6 separate regions of the Homo sapiens genome follow, and regions 1, 2, 3, 5 and 6 are each linked to region 4. Evidence: promoter capture Hi-C in 16 types of primary human blood cells and fetal thymus (Javierre and others, 2016). All regions are on one chromosome and are shown on one strand. Each heading gives the region's core, a stretch centred on a gene start or on the middle of the fragment in contact. The rest is flanking DNA. Distances are from core to core; before and after follow the strand shown. Region 1 overlaps DSE (dermatan sulfate epimerase). Region 2 has its middle 28 kb from the start of TSPYL1. Region 3 has its middle 22 kb from the start of DSE. Region 4 holds the start of TRAPPC3L (trafficking protein particle complex subunit 3L). Region 5 has its middle 5.9 kb from the start of DSE. Region 6 has its middle 41 kb from the start of DSE.

What was found. Contacts are between HindIII fragments. The CHiCAGO score rates a contact against its expected background, and 5 or more counts as called.
Region 1: a contact is called between a fragment that was not itself captured here and the fragment with the promoter of TRAPPC3L in region 4, in 6 of 17 cell types (neutrophils, naive B cells, monocytes and 3 more). The highest score is 14.9, in neutrophils.
Region 2: a fragment that was not itself captured here is called in contact with the fragment with the promoter of TRAPPC3L in region 4 in 16 of 17 cell types (neutrophils, total B cells, naive B cells and 13 more); the score reaches 34.3 in neutrophils.
Region 3: a fragment that was not itself captured here is called in contact with the fragment with the promoter of TRAPPC3L in region 4 in 3 of 17 cell types (total B cells, naive B cells and neutrophils); the score reaches 8.9 in total B cells.
Region 5: a contact is called between a fragment that was not itself captured here and the fragment with the promoter of TRAPPC3L in region 4, in 12 of 17 cell types (neutrophils, naive B cells, total B cells and 9 more). The highest score is 19.5, in neutrophils.
Region 6: a contact is called between a fragment that was not itself captured here and the fragment with the promoter of TRAPPC3L in region 4, in 12 of 17 cell types (neutrophils, monocytes, naive B cells and 9 more). The highest score is 15.3, in neutrophils.

The regions. Positions count from the first base shown.
Region 1 is chr6:116,413,476-116,417,063 of GRCh38, forward strand. All of the region lies in intron 2 of DSE (dermatan sulfate epimerase), which reads left to right. Among named protein-coding and RNA genes, the nearest start is that of DSE, 44 kb to the left of the region's middle. The HindIII fragment of the contact is 8,630 bases long and covers 1-3,588 here.
Region 2 is chr6:116,305,851-116,309,459 of GRCh38, forward strand. It overlaps a transcript of DSE not described here. Among named protein-coding and RNA genes, the nearest start is that of TSPYL1, 28 kb to the left of the region's middle. The HindIII fragment of the contact is 6,577 bases long and covers 1-3,609 here.
Region 3 is chr6:116,346,683-116,350,474 of GRCh38, forward strand. It overlaps a transcript of DSE not described here. Among named protein-coding and RNA genes, the nearest start is that of DSE, 22 kb to the right of the region's middle. The HindIII fragment of the contact is 4,031 bases long and covers 1-3,757 here.
Region 4 is chr6:116,544,314-116,547,952 of GRCh38, forward strand. It overlaps TRAPPC3L (trafficking protein particle complex subunit 3L), which reads right to left and starts at 1,371. Exons shown (of 5, transcript NM_001139444.3): 1 at 1,160-1,371. The coding sequence starts at 1,201. It also overlaps a transcript of CALHM4 not described here. The HindIII fragment of the contact is 9,007 bases long and covers 1-2,874 here.
Region 5 is chr6:116,362,989-116,367,097 of GRCh38, forward strand. It overlaps a transcript of DSE not described here. Among named protein-coding and RNA genes, the nearest start is that of DSE, 5.9 kb to the right of the region's middle. The HindIII fragment of the contact is 3,293 bases long and covers 747-4,039 here.
Region 6 is chr6:116,327,506-116,331,481 of GRCh38, forward strand. It overlaps a transcript of DSE not described here. Among named protein-coding and RNA genes, the nearest start is that of DSE, 41 kb to the right of the region's middle. The HindIII fragment of the contact is 1,232 bases long and covers 1,869-3,100 here.

The DNA of each region.
Region 1 (3,588 bases), core at 685-3,184, 130 kb before region 4:
ATTCTCAAAATGTATTGGGAAGCATCTTTATTTCATTAAGAAACAGTACAGGCCTGTGATTAATGATTATATGTCAGGTTTCCGGGGCTGAATGGAATAAACTGTGCAGAGCATTATTTCCTACTGCACCCAGAGTAAAATCAGCCACAGTTCATTCACTGTTTTAAAAAGGCCTCTGGATTTTATGAAGCTCTGCATAATTTCAGCAAAACCTTTAAAAATCAAATTATCAAAGAAAATTATTCATAAAACATTAAAAGCAGAAATAGTGGGTAAATATATTAACCGTACTCTAAGAGACAGCAAAATATCATTTCACGTATGCTAGCTCCTCCAGGCCTACCTCACTTTGGATTTGATGTTTTCCCACCATGAGGGCAGCAAAAATTGGTGATTTGACTACGGTTTTTCCCATTGTGAAAAAGTGTCCCTCATTATTTTGAAACTTCATTCCTCAAGTAATTCTTTGCCCTTTTGCCTGCCGTGTTCTCAGAATATTAGGCAAGTGCTCTTTCAAGTAAATGGGAGTAACTGAGTGTTCAGGCAGCGACAGGAAGATGATGGGGAGTGTACGAGGTGGCAGCAATGGCCGGTCAGGTTTTTTAGTGTCGGTGTATTTGTTGCTAGGGCTGCTGTAACAAAATACCATAGACTAGGTGGCTTAAACCAACAGAAATTTATTCTCTCTCAGTTCTGGAAGCTAGAAGTCTGAAATCAAGATATCAATAGGCTTCATTCCTTCTGGAGGCTCTCTGAAGGAGAGACCATCCTAAGCTGCTCTCCTAGCTTCTGGTGGTTGTAGGCAATCTTTGGTGTTCTTGGCTTGCAAATGCATCATCTCTCTCTCACTCTGACACAGATAAGTTATTTCATTACAATATAGATCTGTTTTATTTTATAAATATGCCATAATTTTAATGAGTGGAATATCAAGTGTTTGCTCATTTTTTTTTTTAGGTGGAGTTTCGCTCTTGTTGCCCAGGATGGAGTGCAATGGCCCGATCTCAGCTCACCGCAACCTCCACCTCCTGGGTTCAAGCGATTCTCCTGCCTCAGCCTCCCTAGTAGCTGGGATTACAGGCATGTGCCACCACGCCCAGCTAATGTTGTATTTTTAGTAGAGATGGGGTTTCTGCATGTTGGTCAGGCTGGTCTCGAACTCCCGACCTCAGGTGATCCGCCTGCCTCGGCCTCCCAAAGTGCTGGGATTACAGGTGTGAGCCACCACGCCCAGCCTGTTTGCATATTTTAACAAGGCAAAAGTTATTGACAACTGAACTATATTGTATACTGTAATGACTTTTCAATGTGTGTACAACTCTTTGTTTTCTCTTGGATTCATAATAGCTTTTTGTTTTATTTGGTAAGTTTTTTATATGGTTATCTCTAGTGACCAGCCAGACTCTCACTCTTGTGTAAGTTTTCTATCTATTCAAACAAGACATTCTTAATAAGACATTTTTTAAAAATAATTCATCTTTTTGAAGAAGTAATGCTGCATCTTTTTGACATGCTAGGATGTGGATTGCTTGCAGCCAGGTCTGCTGTACAGCCATCTTTGTTCCTTTTTCTCTTGAATTGGATTCCTTGTGCCATGTCTTCTTTTTGATATACATCCTAATTTAGGTGGAGATATTTTCCACTGGCTTCCAGAGAAAGCATTTATGAGAGGTAAATTTTGAGACCTTGGATGTCTGTATATGTTTTTTCTTCCCTCAAGTTTAAAGGGTAGCTTGGCTGGATATGAAATTATAGTCTGGAAATTGTCTCTCTGAGTTTTGGAGTCATTGTTTTATTGTATACTAGTGTCTAGTGTTGCTGTTGAGATGTCTGACCCCACTATTCCTGATGCTTTGAATGAAACCTGATATTCCACTCTGAAGCATATAGGATCTTTTTTATGTTACTAGTGTTTTGAAATTACGGGATGATGTATCTTGTTTTGAGATGAGTCTGTGTACTGTGCACTTCATGGATTCTTTCAATATGGAAACTTATCCCCTTTAGTTCTAGCAATTTTCCTTGATATATTTGGATCTCCTTTTCTTCCCCCTTTTTTCTTTTTTCTTTCTTTTTTTTTTCCTCTCTTCTTTTTCACATGTTTAACCTCTTGGGCCAGTCCTCTTTTTTTTTTTTCCTCTGCTGTTTTCTATTTTATTTTCTTACTTTTTTTGCATTTTCAAGGTTTCTTCAACTTTTCTCCCCAGCCCTTTTATTGCACTTACCTTCCTGCTATTTTGTTTTCCATTTCAAGAGCTTCTTTTGTCTTGAAATTTCTTTCTGCCTGCATGGTTTAATTTCTCCCAAGCTGCATTAATGAGTTTGTTCATTTGGGTCTCTTTTGTCCTATTATGGGATTTCCACAAATCTCTGGTAGTCCTTGACTGCCTAAAAATGCATACAAATGCTGTAACAAATTACCACATACTCAGTGGCCTAAAACAGCACAGAGTGATCTTACAGTTTTGTAGAAGTGTAACACAGGGCTAAAATCAAGGTGTTAGCAGGGCTACATTTTATTCTGGAAGCTCTAGGGCAGAATACTTTTCTTTGCCTTTTTCTAGCTTTTGGAGTTCACATATATTCCTTTGCTTGTAGCTCCCTGCCTCCACCTTCAAAGCTAGCAACCTTGCATCTCTTTGATTCTTCCTCCATGGTCACATCTCTCTCCGACTACAGCCAAGAAAGGTTCTTTGCTTTTAAGGACCCGTGTGACTAGATTGGGACCACCTGGGTAATCTAGAATAATCTCCCATCACAAGGTTTTAAATCATATCTACAAAGTCCCTTTGCCCCAGTGGAAGGTAATGTATGCACAGTTTCTTGGGGGACTGTTATTTTGCCTGTCACAGGTTCTAAACAGCTAATTGCCACTGTGTGTGTGTGTGTGTGTGTGTGTGTGTGTGTGTGTGTGTGTGTGTAGCTTTTTGACTGCACTATAAGGTTGATAGTTTGATTAAATCTTTTTCATTGGGAAATACTTGGTGTTCAGAATCTTTAGATTTTTATTCTTCATTATAGACTTCTTGTCCTCCGGAGTCATGTTATATTTAAAATAGATGGTATATTTTTGATGTTGTGTGTTATAAAATTTATATTAAATTTTTATAAGATAAATAAATGTGTCAACTACATACAGTTATTATAACTGCTCAGTTCTTGCCCAAGCCAACATTTATATATTATATTTTCTTCTCTGACAGGACTGGCCACTGTCCATCATCCTGGCTATTCTTGCATGTTTATTTTTTTTTTTCTTAAAATCATACTGACTACTGACAATTGCTAACTGGCAGTTGTCTGTATGGCTTCTCACATGATCACTGGATGCTTGCATAGACATTGACTGAGTGATAACATCAAAAAGTTGTCCAGCTGAACTTTTTGAAACATATTTTACACATACAGTTGTAAAACATGTTAGGCATTTAAAATATCAAGCTCCTTTTTAAAATGGGTAAATATCATTAAATTATAATTTTCATGAACAATATAGGCAGACCTGGTTATTCCCTCCTATTGCCTTTCCAGGTTTTAAAATTTCTCCATTATAATAGATTCTTTAAGAATTTGTCATTAGAATTTGAT
Region 2 (3,609 bases), core at 414-2,913, 240 kb before region 4:
AGGCTGGTCTTGAACTCCTGACCTCAGGTGATCCACCCACTTCAGCCTCCCAAAGTGCTGGGATTACAAGTGTGAGCCACCGTGCCTGGCATAGAGTATCTTTATTTCTGTAACATATACACTGAATTATTAAGAGATAAAGGGATTAATGTGTGAACCCATTCTCAACTAGTTTAGAAAAAAATGTATGTATGTACATGTGAGTATGTGTATGTGTGTATAGATACACATACACATCCATATCAGTATATAAATGATATATGCATATATATGTAAAAAGAGAACAATAAATATGGCAAGAGAGTAATGATTGGTAAATCTGGATAAAAACTACAAAGAAGTTCTTTGTACTATTCTTGCAACCTTTCTATAAGTTTAAAATTATTTCAACATAGAAACTTTTAAAAACTCAATTTTTAGATATTGAACTTATGTAACTGTTATCCAAACAACAGACTTTATTATAACATACATACACACACAGGTACATACACATACAATTTCATAAACTTCCCACTGCCCATAAAAAGAAATTTTAAGCTCATAAACATTATGCTCAGGGAGTTTCTACAATCAGGTCTCATCCTAATTTTCCTGCCTCACTTTTTGCTTTCTCTAAGGCACTCCTTACTCTATATATGCTGAAATGATTATGTTTGTTTCTCCTTCTGTGTTTTTGTTCCTGCTGTTTGCTCTATAAGGTAAGCCCTCCCAGCTCTTCCACTGGTTACCTCCTATGCCTGCTTTGAGACCAAGTTCAAATGTTGCTTCTATAATACCCTTCTCTACAGCACTAGGCAGATACAACTCTTCCCTCTTTTTGTGAACTGAATGTTGTGTTCCCCCAAAATTTATATGTTGAAGCCATAACTCTCAATGTGATACTCTTTAGAGATGGGGCCTTTGGGAGGAATTAGGGTTAGATGAAGTTATGGGGGCAGGACCCTAATGATGGGATTTGTGCCCTAAGAGCTCTCTTTGCCTTGGGAAGATACAACAAGAAGGCTGCCATCTACAAGCCAGAAAGGGAGCCCTCCCCAGGAGCCAAATTGACTAGCACCTTGATCTTGGACTTCCCAGCATCCAGAACTGTGAGAAAATACAAAAAACATTTCTGTTTTTTAATCTATTCAGTCTATGTTATTTTGTTAGGGCAGCATGAGCAGACTAATATACCTCCTCTGTGTATTCATACAACTTTACACAGAGGTAAAATATAGCAGTTAGAACTCTATCTTATATTGGGTTGTTGATGAATCTTTCACACAGGCATGTGAGTCCTGAGGACAGCAGCTATGTGTTTCATCTTTCTGTCCCTAACTCACTGCCTGACCCATGGAGACCTTAAGTCCAGGCTTGCTGAATGAATATGGCATAATCTGAACCTGACCACTCCAATCATTCATTAACCTTACTGTTTGGGTGTGGATTGATCATTACTTTTCTTGAATTTGTGACAAGATAATTTCAGCAGTTGACAGACAGCTAGTTTCTAGTCAAGCCGATGCATTGTATATGCTCCTACTTGCCTGTTCCTATGTCTTCAGTGATGGATTCAGTGACCTGAAGAGTGTATCTTAATAAAGAATTTTGAATGCATTTGGTTGAAAACATTCTGAAAAGAACCTTTTCTTCATACATTTTATATGGATATGAACTAGACAATAATGTATGCTTATAATAATTGAGAAGTTTTTAAAAATGAGATGCTGTTACTAATAAATTATGATTAATTCTTTCTCTAAAGGTAGTACGAAGTTAAACAATGGTAGGAATCTTGGTCTCTGTTTATTATCCTTACTCCAACTCATCTTTCATTACAAATAATTTTTTTATACAGTCCCCTCTCTACCCTCTTACACAGAGGCATTTCAGCAGATATTTTATTGAAAACAAAACACTGTGCAGCCCATGCTGCACAAGGAAAGAAGTGTGTACAAGATAATTCCAAAGGGCAATACATGTTTCTAGTTAAAAATTGGAGGGTCATGTAAATATGAACTGTTTAGTCAAGTTCAGGTAAAATTAGGAGGAATTACTGGAAAAGCGTGAACAGTGAATATATTCCTTAGTTCTAATTCTTTCAATAGTCATCTCTATCAACTCAGAGATTGCTTTTGCTTGTTTTCTTTGTTTTTTATTTCATTCTGTACAGGGCCTTGAACATTCAGTGACAATTTATGGTAACTGCAGAGTATACCATCACCATCCTGTGTTCTTTGGATAACCAGCTGGCCTAATTTTGAATGTCCTGAACCACATATTACTATAGCTCTGTGTTAACTATGTCATGGAGTGGATTTATTTCTCCTGTTGACTATTAGACAACCTGGTTGCTTCCACTTACTATTTATTCAACTAATACTGCCTGTTATATTGTATGTTGTAAGAGTTGGAGGCAAGTTGTTTCCTGGTAAGCATTAGACTCAGAAATTCTGGGAGTGTTTTTGTTTTGTTTTTAAGCTCGGCTTCAATCTTGTAAGAGATTTGTAAATCTCGTAAATGTATAAGGTAACATAGAACTTGATGTGACCTTGTTTACTCTTAGATATTTTGATATGAGCTGTTTAGACAGAAAATATTTGTTGATAAATATGAATGAAAACATAAGGAATATTGAACAGGAGGTTAAATGTCAAAGTATTATGACGATGGCCTGGCATAGTAGGTGGAATGAGGGCTTTTTAATGAGAAAGATCAGTGCCCACATTCTTGTTTTGTGACTTACTAGCTATATTTTTAAAGCAATTTACATAAACTCTTGAGCCTCAAGTATACCTTCTATAAAATGGTGATAATAACACCCATCTTTTGTTGCATTTTTTTGTTTTTTGGGGTTTTTTTTGAGATGGAGTCTCACTCTGTCACCCAGGCTGGAGTGCAGTGGCATGATCTCGGCTCACTGCAAGCTCCGCCTCCCGGGTTCATGCCATTCTCCTGCCTCAGCCTCCCAAGTAGCTGGGACTACAGGCGCCCACCACCATGCCCAGCTAATTTTTTGTGCTGGGATTACAGGTGTGAGCCACAGTGCCCGGCCTTGTTGCATTCTTTTGAAAATGAATAAAAACGGTATATAAATTATGAGTTACCGTGCCTTGAGCATAATAGATACTCATAATAGATATTCTAATAAATAGTGGCTCTTATGGTTAATGTTTTTTAAATCAAGAGGACAAATAAGATCAATTAAAATTTCTAATTGATTATTACTTTTACTAAAAGTTTTTATTTTGTTTAGAACAGCCATTAGTAAATTGAACTTATTATCTCATGATGTTTTTATGAGGAGCAAATTAAAGAAAATTAGAATCATCTGTTGTGCTAGATGACACATAGCACTCAATGTGCTCATTTTATTCCCCCCTCATCCTGTATACACACAACTCTACTTTTTAGGTGGATTTCTTCCAAGATGGTCTAGAAAATAATTTTTTAAAACTTAGTCATTATATATTTGGAATACACATACATACATACATACATACATACATACACACCACTCTAAAATGAAGAAGGTCAATTGCCTATTATCTATTGTCTAGCATGGGTTCTATTATTGCTCCTTTATATGTTTAACTATGATGGTATTAACTTTTGTTCATATATGGA
Region 3 (3,792 bases), core at 492-2,991, 200 kb before region 4:
GGAAGCATTCCATTTGAAAACTAGCACAAGACAGAGACGCCCTCTCTTACCACTCCTATTCAAAATAGTGTTGGAAGTTCTGGCCAGGGCAATCAGGCAGGAGAAAGAAATAAAGGGTATTGGATTAGGAAAAGAGGAAGTCAAATTGTCCCTGTTTGCAGATGACATGGTTATATATCTAGAAAACCCCATCATCTCAGCCCAAAATCTCCTTAAGCTGATAAGCAACTTCAGCAGAGTCTCAGGATACAAAATCAATATGCAAAAATCACAAGCATTCCTATACACCAATAACAGACAAACAGAGAGCAAAATCATGAGTGAACTCCCATTCACAATTGCTTCAAAGAGAATAAAATACCTAGGAATCCAACTTACAAGGGATGTGAAGGACTTCTTATGGAGAACTACAGACCACTGCTCAATTAAATAAAAGAGGACACAAACAAATGGAAGAACATTCCATGCTCATGGATAGGAGGAATCAATATCCTGAAAATGGCCATACTGTCCAAGGTAATTTATAGATTCAGTGCCATCCCCATCAAGCTACCAATGACTTTCTTCACAGAATTGGAGAAAACTCCTCTAAAGTTCATATGGAACCAAAAAAAGAGCCCGCATTGCCAAGACAATCCTAAGCAAAAAGAACAAAGCTGGAGGCATCATGCTACCTGACTTCAAACTATACTACAAGGCTACAGTAACCAAAACAGCATGGTACTGGTACCAAAACAGCATGGTACTGGTACCAAAACAGAGATATAGACCAATGGAACAGAACAGAGCCCTCAGAAATAATACCACACATCTACAACCATCTGATCTTTGACAAACCTGACAAAAACAAGAAATGGAGAAAAGATTCCCTGTTTAATTAAGTGGTTCTGGGAAAACTGGCTAGCCATATGTAGAAAGCTGAAACTGGATCCCTTCCTTACACCGCATACAAAAATTAATTCAAGATGGATTAAAGACTTAAATGTTAGACCTAAAACCATAAAAACCCTAGAAGAAAACCTAGGCAATACCATTCAGGACATAGGCATGTGCAAGGACTTCATGACTAAAACATCAAAAGCAATGGCAACAAAAGCCAAAATTGACAAATGGAATCTAATTAAACTAAAGAGCTTCTGCACAGCAAAAGAAACTACCATCAGAGTTAACAGGCAACCTACACAATGGGAGAAAATTTTTACAATCTACCCATGTGACAAAGGGCTAATATCCAGAATCTACAAAGAACTTAAACAAATTTATGAGAAATAAATCAAACAACCCCATCAAAAAGTGGGTGAAGGATGTGAACAGACACTTCTCAAAAGAAGACATTTTTGCACCCAACGGACACATTAAAAAATGGTCATCATCACTGGCCATCAGAGAAATGCAAATCAAAACCACAATGAGATACCATCTCACACCAGTTAGAATGGCAATCATTAAAAAGTCAAGAAACAGGCTGGGCACGGTGGCTCACGCCTGTAATCCCAGCACTTTGGGAGGCCAAAGCGGGTGGATTGTGAGGTCAGGAGATCAAGACCATCCTGGCTAACACGGTGAAACCCCGTGTCTACTAAAAATTAAAAAAATTAGCCAGGCATGGTGGCTGGCGCCTGTAGTCCCAGCTACTCGGGAGGCTGAGGAAAGAGAATGGCGTGAACCTGGGAGACGGAGCTTGAAGTGAGCCGAGATCGTGCCACTGCACTCTAGCCTGGGCGACAGAGTGAGACTCCGTCTCAAAAAAAACAAAAAAAAACAAAAAAAAAACCCCAAAAGTCAGGAAACAACAGGTGCTGGAGAGGATGTGGAGAAATAGGAATACTTTTACACTGTTAGTGGGACTGTAAAGTAGTTCAACCATTGTGGAAGACAGTGTGGCGATTCCTCAAGGATCTAGAACTAGAAATACCATTTGACCCAGCCATCCCATTACTGGGTATATACCCAAAGGATTATAAATCATGCTGCTATAAAGACACATGCACACGTATGTTTATTGCGGCATTATTCACGATAGCAAAGACTTGGAACCAACCCAAATGTCCATCAATGATAGACTGGATTAAGAACATGTGGCACATATACACCATGGAATACTATGCAGCCATAAAAAAGGATGAGTTCATGTCCTTTGTAGGGACATGGATGAAGCTGGAAACCATCATTCTGAGCAAACTATCTCAAGGACAGAAAACCAAACACCACATGTTCTCACTCATAGGTGGGAATTGAACAATGAGAACACTTGGACACAGGGTGGGGAACATCACACACCAGGGTGGGGTGGGTGGAGGGGGGAGGGATAGCATTAGGAGATATACCTAATGTAAATGATGAGTTAACAGGTGCAGCAAACCAACATGGCACATGTATACATATGTAACAAACCTGCACGTTGTTCTCATGTACCCTAGAACATAAAGTATAACCAAAATATATATATACACATACATATACATATATATCAATATTTATATACACTAATATAAAATGGATATGTATACATATATACATATATCTACACACACACACCCATATACATACATACACACCTCTAAACCTGGATTCCTAAAGGTTTTCCCATGCCAGTATGGCTTAGTGATTGGATAGAGGTTGTGCTGAAACACTTGAGCCAATGAAGTTTCTGTCTTTTGCCAAAGGATCTCTGTGTGGTAGGGGAGCTCACTCAGAGTTCAGGTGCTTTCAAGCTGACTCAAGCTCCAGCTTTTACTGACCACTGGACCTTTTCTTATCTCTTTTATGCAAACAAATTCAGGGGTAGCCGGGATTGAGTGACTAGCTCGGGCCTTCTCCAGGAAATATACACAGCCAGAGAAGTATTCTCCAACTGTGACTACAGCCTCAGACTAGTAGAGCAGTTGGCTTTCCCTGTTTACCCACCTCAGAGATCAGCACTTTTACCAAATATGCTGCTGGGAGTGGTCATTTCTCATCACTCCAGATTGAGTGAGCTCTCATGGATCGTGACAGAGAAGCTGCCTGTCCTCATGGCCTGGCCTCCTTCTATAAAACCTCTGTCCTTACTGAAGTGAGGAGGAAGGGAGGGCAGATATGTGAGTAGCTTCAGGCTAGAATGCCACAGGTTCTCATTATTCTTATATTCAGCAGTTTTTCAAGCCTAAACACTTCTCAGGTTGTATGCCTTTGGTTGATTTTCAGAGTGCTAAAATGATTGTTTTTGTCAATTTTATCCAGCTTTATAGTTACTTTTTACAGAGAGAATTTGTCTCCTCACTTGGCCATAACCAAAAGCTCACCACTTACTACCTTTAAAAGAATCACTTACATATTAATTATTTCATGTTTACATGCATAGTCTTTTTAAAAAAATACCTAAATGTACTACTCCCTTTTATAGTGTTTAGGAATCTGAACTTATAATTTTAAGAGGCTAATTAGCTCAAATCCAGTTTCATTTTTAAATTTTATATCTTGCTTTTTTCTATGTCAAAATGATTTATCTCATAAGAGAACAGGATAGTAAGAAAACTGAAAAGTGATCAGGCCATTTCGTATGCCTTAATAAAAACTGCCCAAGATGGTATGGTTGAGGAAGAGTATGAAGATCAATGGGTATGGGCCTACATTATTCTAGGACTGACTTATTTCCCTATAGAGTGGAAATCTTCTACTTCTAACTTCTGTGGCAATAAATTCTTTTTTTAAAAGCATGATTATATGAGAACTCTTCAGAGAAAAGAACTTGTATCTCTTCTTTTCGTATCACAAAAGCTTACTCTAGTGAATTCTGGGTAACCCAAACTG
Region 4 (3,639 bases), core at 121-2,620:
GTGGAATTTCTTCTCTGTCCCTGATGGGTGGGCACTATTATATATTGAAATCTATTTTATTTCCAGCTGAGTTTCTGGTTCAGTACCCATAAAGGCCAGCTTTCTCTATTCTGCTTCATGGCCAAGGACTGTACCTTGAACTATCTGTTCAATTGGGTCTCAAATCCATACCACAGATGCCAGGAAAGGTCAACATAAGTTTATCTTTATCGTTTTTAAAACAATAAAAATAATCATATGAATATCTGAAAGAACATCATTAACTATTTCAGTAGGTTATGAATGTATCAGGATAAAAATACATTTTAACTGCTTTATAAAATCAAGTGATTTCGGTATAATATGAACTATGTACCATATATTTTTAGCACTTGAGAGTCCCACAGGAAAATAAATCAAGATCCCAGAAGGCCAGAGGAGGTATCTGCAGGCATTTCAAACTGAAGTATGCTAGTTAGTCACTACAATTCTAAACACCAAGTCTGAAATTACTTAATTATATCAAATGCCCATCAGTCTCCTGACATAATTAACAGAATTTTAAAGTTAACAGTGAGTTTTTGTATCTGTAGTATCTGAGTGACTAAAACTATAAGAGAGTATTAAAGAATATTATTTAAAACTAATCTGCAAAAAAATAAGGTTTATAAATAACTCTTAACCTGGAATATATAGAAAGGATGATATTACATACCAAGCTACAATAAGACTAGGAAACATTTTTAAAGGCAATCCTTTTTTGATGACCTATTTCGATTCAGTTTTACACATAATCAACTATATATATACACACATATATATATACATACATACATATATATACATATACATATATATGTAAGTTCCCATTTCCTGAAGTATGAAATAGAAAAAATTGCTAATATTTTCATATTTTCTGTCAGAGGTGAAAAAATTGACACTCATATTGATATAATTAGTCAGAAAAGAAGACCTTAAAGTGTGTATAAAGAATTGATTATTCTTTATGTAGGAGATAATCATAATTATTCCTAGATGTGTCATTTATGATTCACTTCGCTGAACACTGTCTTTCCTCCACTAAAAATTCTTATAGCATCAGTTTTTAAAATCAATCAGAAATCACTCAAGAAAACATTTTCTCTGAAGTAGAAAAAATCTCTTTGTAGAAAGATCTTACTATTTTATGGTATTCTGGTCTTCGGTGTGCAGGGCGAGACATAGTGCTTGATAGATGAAGAATATGATCTTCAATTTCTCTTCTTTTGCCTGTTTCTTAGAGGTGTATCAGTCCATGTCTTTTTGTTTTGTTTTTGTAAGCTCTTCCTCGCTTTGAGACAGGAGTGCTGCTTCTGCACTCTGCTGCTTTTGCTCTTTGCTGAGCTGAAGAGGGAAAAAAACCATGAACAACAGGATTGTCTTATAGCCACGTAACTTGCCATGGATCAAATAACTGCTTCATTTGTAAGGATGAATTGTAATCTAGAGCCATAAAAGCTGATAATGTGAAGTCAGACCTGAAGCACTGCAACTCAAAAAATTCTTTAGCCCGAGGGAGTTCAAGAGTGGTGTTTTGTTCTCAGGCCAAGACATTGTTTTAAAATCAGAAACAGAAACCTTCGCAATCCAAGATAGATCTAAATGTTAGCATTATTCAGTCTTGGATTGATTGTTGTAAGAATTAGAGAGACAAGATCAGCAATCTGTAGGTAATAAATCCTGAGTTAAAACGTGATCCCTCAACTACACCAATGGTTATCACACTGTCCCCAAAACCATAGATCCCTATCTTGTGTGATTACAGTATTCAAATATATCTGGTAACTTTTTTGCTTTTCATTAGCAGCAATCAACAACATTAAGGAGTGATAGAATGGGCAATATTTTCTTACAAAACTGTTGTTCAAAATGGGCGCTCTACAGTATCATAATGTATAATGATTCTGATAGAGAAAGTAAGCCCTTAGCTTTCTTTTGAGAGCTCCTGAGACGTAAGCTATTGAAGGCTCTCTTTATTTACGCAGAAATACTTAAAGTTCAAATAAAAAAATCCTTTCACCTTGACAACTGCAGGGTGCAGAGTAGGATCAAAATCTTTCCAGAAATGGAAGCGGAAAACTCAGTTTAGGAAAGTAATTTTCTTCTACTTATAGTTTGAGTCCATTAGTCCTATTTGTTCTGGAAAATTCTTGCTATAAAGTGACAAACTCAAGAATACTTTGACGAAAAGTGTGGTGTAGTTGAAAGAACCTAGGAGGATTTGGAAGGCTCAGGCTGTTGCAGCCCTACCATTTACTGGCTGTGTGGCATTGGGCAAGCCATTTTATTGCTCTATGACTCAGTTTCCACATTTGCAAAATGGCAACAATATCACTCACCTCACAGAATAATTGTGAGAACCAAAGAGACGAGGCGTACCGTAAAACACATTAAAATGCACCATATAATAACTAGTTACTATAGGTTATTCTTGTGGTTGGATAAATTGAATGGAATTCTACAATACCTAAGGCATTTCCATCACTGCATATGTTCTATGACACTATGATCTCAGGAAAATTAATTTCACTTAGTTGTGGGGTATGGGGTGGAGAGTTTTTCAGTAGCAAATAATAACGACTTATATGTATATCAAATTTACAGTTTACAACATGGTTTTCGTTCTCTTCATCTCATTTTAATTCAGATACAATCTGTGAAATAGTACTGTAATCATGGCCATTTTACAGGATAAGAATCTAAAAGTAGAGAGGTTGAGAAATGTATTCAAGGTTATCTGGATGTTGGCAACAAGAAGGGATTTGGGCTAATTTTGATGATTCCAAGTCAAATTTATTTTGTACCGCACACACTCTAATTATGTTAGAGCAAACTATTTTAGAGGCAGACTCAAAAAGCTTACTAAGGTGCAGGGACAGCATGTTGCTGGGTCAATTTGTGGGCAATCCTAGTTCTGAGTAAGATACCCCAGAGAATAACCTACAAAGGGCCTGTGTGCTTGCTGCGAGGTGATGGCGGTACTGGAATCAATTTCACCAAACTCTAATGGCTGTGGTATGGTCACATTATGGCCATCGGGAGAATTCGGGATGTCATTGGATGTATTAGAAAAAGCCGGCTTTTACTTCAGACTGACATGGCTCCCCTCTGCTCCATTGACCTTCCAGTCAAGACACGAGCTTAAGGAAGGAGCAGAGCCCCTGCCAGGTGCTACTGTACAAAGCACAACCTTCACGACCACAGCTGTACTCATCATCACAGGGGACACTGGTTTGCTGGTTTTCAGTCTATGAAACCTGCTAGTCTTCAGCAGCTCTTAGGATGCAAGTGAGCCCTGTGTTCCCCAGACTCCTTTTTTAATGTAAATGTACTCCTCCCTTAAATAGAAGAAAGCACAGAGATGATGTTTCAAGCGGGTACATGATCTATAATGTCTGCCCTGGCAGCCAACTAGGAAAGAATTATTCCAAGATAATGCATAAGCAAAGTTTTTCCTGTTTTACTAAGAGTTCTTTAGTCTTGTTAGGACTAAATCTGGAACTGGGGTTAGGAGAAAGACACATTCTTCAGTCTGGTAAAACTGCACTGCAGTCAACCAACCCAAGTAAATGGTGAATTGAGCTATGCCCCTATGCTGGTCCTTTGGGAATACATGGGCAG
Region 5 (4,109 bases), core at 1,143-3,642, 180 kb before region 4:
AAGTAAAAACAGAATTTCTTCTAGGGTCAATTTAGTCCTAGAACCTAGAACTTTCAGTTTCCAGAATTAACCCATTAATTTCCCCCCAGACAACATTAAAATTTGTCAATTTCAGGCAGATTCATTTAAAGTAACTTTTCCATTATACTACAATCCAAGATTGTTGTATCCTATATCTATTTCTACTTTGTAACAGTTGCTTTTTTTTGCCACGTTTAATGACTGATCAGAAAGTGAGATATTTAAATATATATATACACACACACATATATGCATATATGTGTGTGCTTGTGTGTGTGTGTCTATATGATAGATACTTGCCACATGTTTAATGACTGATCAGAAAGTGAGATTTTAAAATATACATATATATACACATGTGTGTGCTTTGTGTGTGTGTGTGTATATATATATGATAGATACTTAGCTGATCTTCACACCACAACATTAATCTGCCCACCATGAACAGAAGCACTGCTATCAAGTATCAGCCTTCTTGTATAATAACAGGAAATTCAGAAAATTGATTCATGCAATAAAAAGATGGAAATTTATTAGAACTTTTAAATACCTTAATTCCCAGGTATAATCAGAGGAAAAATAACTCAAGATGGGTGAAAGTTTATTAAAGATTTCACCTCAAGGACAGGCATTTAGTTAGATAGTGATTTTACATATGTAGTGATGTGAACTTACATTGTTCATATATCGGGGAGAAATTACATCATAAGTAAAACAACACATTAAGCTTAACGCTGCTAAATGAAAGGTGCCATCCCCTGCACATTCTGAGTAGGCACTTGATTTCTTTCAAAAATCAACCTTATTTCTTCTTAGGCACTGATATTTTGTTAATGGAGCAAATGAATCTACATTTTTTCATAAATTGCCAGAGTTAATATGAAATATGCACTTCCCAAAAGGAGAAGTTAGTTGTACATTTTTGGCCAATGATTCAGCAAGGAGAAGTGAGAAAAAGAAAATCTGGCTAGGAATCAGGAGGCTTGACTTCTCCTTCCACTTCTAACTAATTAGCAGCAAAAACTGGTAACAGTCCCCATCTATGTTAACCTTGGTTTCTTTGTAAAACAAAATGGTTAGAATATAATTATTCCAAGTTTCCTTATACTTTTCTCACTTAGATGACAAATACTTCTAAGGAATGCTGTGTTTTTTGTTTGTTTGTTAAACTGTTGTTGGGTTTTTATTTTGTTATTTTAACATTTTTTTAAAATGGCAGTGTTTCCATTTGGCCAAGATGAGTAAAAATGGCAAAATCAAAATGTCACTATTAAAAAATCAAAAATGAAAGAAAACATGGAAAAAGAACCAGTGTGTATTCTTTGGAGTTTGGTGAGAAAGGACATAGAAACATGTCACTAGACTACATACTTAAGTTTAACATCAGCAAACTGTCGACTATTTCCCATCTAAAAGATACTATAAATGCAAAATAGCCAAGATTTTCTTTGCCTGACACGGGTAATCTCATCAGCAGAAGAAAAGGCCTGAGCAGAAGGAGAAGTCTGAATGGCCTGGCTGTTAAATGTTTTACTGGAATTCACTATGTGTAATACTCAGGCAGCAGAAACTTGAAGTGAAACATTAACTGCAATATGAAGTCAACTTCACTAGTTCAGCCAGTATTGACATCAAATATTATTTTTCCCAAACTGCATATCCAACAAAAGTATTTAGAAAGAAATACATTAGTGAGCTTGAGTTAATAAAAACTAATCTTCACAATATTTTATATAATTAATAAACCAGAAGAAATGTGGCAAATAAACATATTCTCTAATTAATACTTCCTTTGGTTCAAGTACCTGTTTAGTAACACTTTTTTTTTTTTTTTTTTTTTTGACACCGAGTTTCACTCTTGTTGCCCAGGCTGGAGTGCAGTGGTGTGATCTCGGCTCACTGCAACCTCTGCCTCTTGGGTTCCAGCAATTCTCGTGCCTCAGCCTCCTGAGTAACTGGGATTACAGTGTGCGCCACCATGCCCGGCTAATTTTTTGTGTGTGTTTTTAGTAGAGATGGGGTTTTGCCATGTTGCCCAGGCTGATCTCGAACTCCTGGGCTCAAGCAGTTTGCCTGCATTGGCCTCCCAAAGTGCTGGGATTACAGGTGTGAGCCACCTCACCCAGCCTATTTAGTAACACTCTATAAAACAGTGGTTCCAAACTTTTGGTACATTGGAATCACAGAGTTTTAAACACCTCAAACTTTCTAATTTGGTTGGTACAGACTATAACTGGGGCATCGGAAGTTCTTTTTTTGTGGGGGGGATGGAGTCTTGCTCTATCGCCCAGGCTGGAGTGCAGTGGTGCAATCGGCTCACTGCAAGCTCCGCCTCCTGGGTTCACGCCATTCTCCTGCCTCAGCCTCCCAAGTAGCTGGGACTACAAGCACCCACCACCACGCCTGGCTAATTTTTTGTATATTTAGTAGAGACGGGGTTTCACCATGTTAGCCAGGATGGTCTCGATCTCCTGACCTCGTGATCTGCCCATCTCGGCCTCCCAAAGTGCTGGGATCACAGCCGTGAGCCACCGCACGTGGCCGGAAGTTCTTAAAGCTCTCCAGATGGTTCTAATGTGCAGCAAAGTTTGGGAAGCACCACTACGTAGCATTGGTTCTAACTCTGGCTGCACATTGGAACTATCTCGTACCTTTAAAAGCATATGGGGTATCTGGACTTCATCCTAGAAGGAATTAAATCAGAATTTCTAAGAGTACAACTAGGCATTGGTGTGTTTTGGGTTCTCCCAAGTGATGCTAATATGCACCCAGGGGTTAGAATTACTATTATAGAATACTGCCACGACAATCCTTATCTCCTCCTGAAGAGCACAGAAGGCTTGATTTCCAAACTATTGCAAAAACTGGCATGACCTCAACTACTTTTAGCAGGGTTCTGAGAGGTAGGGTATCACTCACCTTAATTGCTTCAGATCCTGCCTGAAAAATGCCCAGGCATGTTCCAGTCCACACAAGACTGATTCCAAAGGGTGTATCTCTCATTGACAGCCCCTAGAACCATTCTAAGTTATGACAATAAACACCTACTTACTGAGTTCTCATTCCTTGGCAGGTATTTTATATACAACGTTTGGTTTGCTCCTTCCAGAAACTGTATGAGAAAAGTTTGCATATCAAAATCCTACTGATGAGAAAGTGGAACTCAACAATGTTAAATGACTTGCCTGCCTAAGGTCACACAGTTAGTGACAGAGTCTAGATTTCAGCCTAGTTTTGTTCAACTTCAAAGTCCTTGCTCTTATTTGATGGACACATTAAATTATCCACCATGGTATCTAGACTGGGACACAGCCACAATCTGAAAATTGAATTCTAATTTAATAAACGTGCCCTCTGCCAGGAAATATGAGGAATGGCTATAGAAATGAAGAAGAGTCTCTACCATGAAGGAGCTTATAATACTAAATGTTACACTCCTTTTGGTCTATTAAGTCTAAGGAAAAGAATAAACATCTAATTTCATTCATTCATGTAACAAATATCAGTAATTTTTGTAATTTCAGAGAACAATATTATAATTTGGAAGGTGTTTAGGACACCTTAGGTAGTTTATAATAAGAGGTGATATAAAATCATCCATTTCAAAAGTCAATTGTCAATGAATGGAGAATAGCTTTCAACTGAGGCCAGGATACGCAAACTGTAAATGAGGCTTTAGACACAAAAAGTTAGTCTAGGCCAAGTGGTTTAGTGGAAGGATCCTAGATTTTATGTCAGAAAACATAATTGTTATGTGGTCTGAACCATTTATGGTTTGGGAAATTCACTTTAACTTTCAGAGCCTCTGTTTCCTCATCAGTCAGTGCCTGTGAGGATAAAAGGAGACACGTATGGACGTGCCTGGTACATTTCATGACCTATTAGAAGATTGTGAGGCCAGGAAGTATGTACCTGCAGAAATCTCAAATTGTGACTTGCAGTGGAGGTGGAATTCAATTATTATTAAGAATGTAGGTCAATGTTTCATTTTTTTTAAAGATGAAAACTAAGCCCACGAAGCTTGAGTCATCTGGAGATGAAGCAGTCGCAGCGGAGCAGTCTTGGTAATGGAGAAGATCATGTCAGCG
Region 6 (3,976 bases), core at 1,235-3,734, 220 kb before region 4:
TGGAGGAGGATGGATTTTCTTGTCAAGATCTTGGGCAAATGATATGCTGAAAGAACCACAGCTGGAGTCCAGGGGTTACATAGAAGTCACTGGTATTACAGGATATTTGGAGGTCAAAACTTTAAAGTATTATCCATAATACTTGAATCCAAACTGCTCTTGGTAAATATTTCTGTTTGTTTCCGGTGAGCCCATTATTTGTTTATGCTTTCTGCCTCATTGGCCATTCTACATATTTTCTAGAAAATGTTCTATGATATATTTTACCTGCCTAATTTTGAGGGCAGTTGAAACCATTATGTGTGTTACTACAAAAACTGTGTTCTTACACAAGTAAATTTAGAGACACAACAGCTAAAAGTCTTTCTTTTAGCTGTTGTGGTATTTTCACTACTTTTAGTGTAAATTCAGGTCTGTTACTTAACATGGAGCTTCCGCCACAGAGGCCAGAGGAGCACATCAAAGCCAAAAGCACAGCAAGTCATCGGAGTTCAGATTCTTTTCTGCTTCCCTGCAGAGGGGTCAAGAATATAAACATACTCAACTGCTACAGCAGGAGGGAACATTAGCCCATCAACAGAACCAAACAGGAAGCACCAAATGGGCATTTCTTCTGTTTATTTTGTGATTATTAAGAAAGACGTAGTTTAGTTCCTTCAACCAAATTTGTCAATGAAACATAGAAAACATACAAGGTACAGTCATTTTGGTTAGGGGAGAGTCTGATTGTGAAAGGATTCAATGCTGTTTTTTCCAGTTATTTCACTTACTACAATGTATACAATAAGTTCTTAGGGTGTTGGAATTTAAAACTAATTAACATTTGTTACACTCTTTTGAGATTCACATTATGAGTCACTTAGATTTTAATCAAATTTCTCATACGTTTCCTTTCTGGACCGAGGAGACTGTGCACATATTGAGCAGAACAATTTTGCCTCCCTTCAGTTTGAGATGGGGTGCGAAGAGTTTCAGATACAGCCAGGAAATACCTCAAATGGCACTGCAGAGGTCTGTAAGACTGACCAAAATTTAAAATCTTGGTATATCCATTCCATTACATCAAAGTAAGTTCTAGTACTCCACTGCCAGTATCAGCAGATAATAAAAAATGACGCACATTGTAATGATTCAAGCAAGCCCAGTAAAGGAGCAAGAAGGAATGTAATATCTATTTTTGTGAAAGTTTCCAGAAATAAATCAACAAACCACTTTATTCTTCTTATAATTACTTGGAATCTCTTAATTCCAGAAGACTATCTGGCCTGCTGTTTAAAAGGAAGTGAGTGTTCCCTTTCAGCTTGCTTCACTATTTTTCTCATCCAGTCAGTGGTATGGGATACCAAGGATGGGATAAGGAGAGTAGTTCACCCCTAGTACAGGCAATAAGGGCTGCTTTGTGTGTAGAAAATTGAAAAGAAATAAAAATAAAATAATAATAAAAGCCAGTTCTGCTTACTACGCCTGGCAGTTCCGCTTACTATGCCTGGCAGTTCCAAGCAATATCAACAATACTACTCCTCTTTGAAAAATAAAAAAACTTTTGTTGGTCTAAGTTCTAAACAACTGCTGCAGTTGCTGAAATTTAACAAAACAAATGTAAGCTGAATATTACGTTTTTATTATTACTTATTATTTAATAAACATTGCATTCTATGTGGAAGTAATTCTAACTCTCAAATGCACATGGACTCAGCTATACTTGTTTATTTCAAGAATAAGCAGTCAAGTTCTGTTTCATTTTTATAATCACTCTGCTGTAATTGTTTATTTTTAGTCTGTGTTTAAATACAGGCTTACATAGTACCACAGGGACTGGAGATGTGACCTGAGCCTGAAGCAAGCTCAAATAATTCACAATCATTACAAGCTTTGGAGAATTTTACCAAATATGATAGAAATTTATGATGAATTTTCTGGTGAAGTTATTTTAGTGGAAATTTTTCAACAGCAGAAATATTTGAAAACTGCTGGAACTGATCCCAAAGAAAAAAGGATATGGGTAGTACTATAATTTCTGGAATTTATTGTGAAATGGGATTTGTATGAATCTGATGAATGTATTCTTATTTTAAAGATTTCATCACTATTTCCATATCTGTTATTTCACGTGAAACTTTTTGAAATTAAAATAAAAAATGTTCTTCAATCAACTATGAGTGATGTCAACACATCTGACCGCACTGATTTTACTGACCATGACTATATAAAGATTAATTTGACAAAGCATTGACAAATTTGCAAAAATTAATGCTCAAAGTCAGAAAACATAAAGTGATTATTCTTCACTGAGGCAAACCAGTATATAGGTATAAATATTTTTCTTTTCTTTTCTTTGAGATGGAGTCTTGCTCTGTCCCCAGGCTGGAGTGCAATGACGCGATCTCAGCTCAATGCAACCTCCGCCTTCCGGATTCAAGTGATTGTCCTGCCTCAGCCTCCCGGGTAGCTGGGATTACAGGCGCCTACCATCACGCCCAGCTGATTTTTTGTATTTTTAGTAGAGATGGGGTTTCATCATATTGGCCAGGCTGGCCTTGAACTCCCAACCTCAGGTGATCCACCTGCCTCGGCCTCCCAAAGTGCTGGGATTACAGGCGTGAGCCACTGCGCCTGGCCCATACTAATGTACTTAAAAAGTATTAAACCTTAACTTTTTGCATTTTCAGCTAAAATATATACTTTATTAATTTATTATTAGCATGATTACATAGTCAAAATTGAATAAATGAAAACTTTCACTGCCTGCATTTCTTTTCTGGACATAATTATTATTTGTTTCATTTCAAAATTATTACTGAAAATACTTTTATCATACAGAGGAAGGCGTATTAAAAATGGTCCCTTTCAGGCATCAAGTACCTAGCTATGCCACTGCATGCGTCTATTCATTTTAACTCAAAACAAAATGCATTTTTAATCTTTTTGGTATTACATATGTTTTTGACAATTATGCCAAAAAGCAATTTATTTTAATAAGGGAACTCTTAATAATCAAGAAATAGAAAGAGCTACCCTTAAATACAACTCTCAACTACCACCGATTTTGGTAATAACTATTTCTAGTTAATATATTTGATGTTTTGATTATTTTATTATAAGCTTAGTAGGATAAGAAAAATACAAAAAATACAACTGCATAAATCTCAACATGATGAAATAGAAATTATGACTATCTCCTTATGACTCAAAAAAGCTGAATCACTCATTTTAAACCTTCCAGTCTAGCAAATACCCTGATTTTATGCCTTTTCAGAAAACAGAAAAACAAAGATGTTCTCCAACCTAGCTTATAAAGTCAACACAACTTTGATATAAGAACATGAACATTAAATGATGAGGAAAAATTGCAGGCAACCTCAATCATGAACAGATATGCTTAAATTCTTAATATTAGATAACCATACAACATGTATATATGAAATGTCACAAGTTGAGTTTGTTGCAATTATGCAATGTTAGTTTAATATTAGAAAACTGAGAATTTATGACATTAACAGAATAAAGGAAAAAATTATATGATAATTGTACTAGATGCAGAAAAGCAGTTGGTTAAAGTAAGCATCTATTTATGATTAAAATACATCTTTGGGCAAACGAAGAATAGAAGAGAGCTTCTTTAATCAAATACAGGGTATCTACAAAACACCAATAATAAACACCATAGAAATACTGAAAACTTTCTTTCTGTGATCAGGAATAAGATAATAGTTGTATTAGTTCATTCTCTTGCTGCTATGATGAAATACCCAAGACTGGGTAATTTATAAAGGAAAGAGATTTAATTGACTCACAGTTCTGCAGGGCTGGGGAGGCCTCATGAAACTTACAATCATGGTGGAAGAGAAAGCAAACACATCCTTCTTCACATGGTGACAGCAAGGAGAAGTGCACTGCGAAGTGGGGAAAAGCCCCTTATAAAACCATCAGATCTCATGAGAAGTCACTCACTATCATGAGAACAGCATGGGGGAAA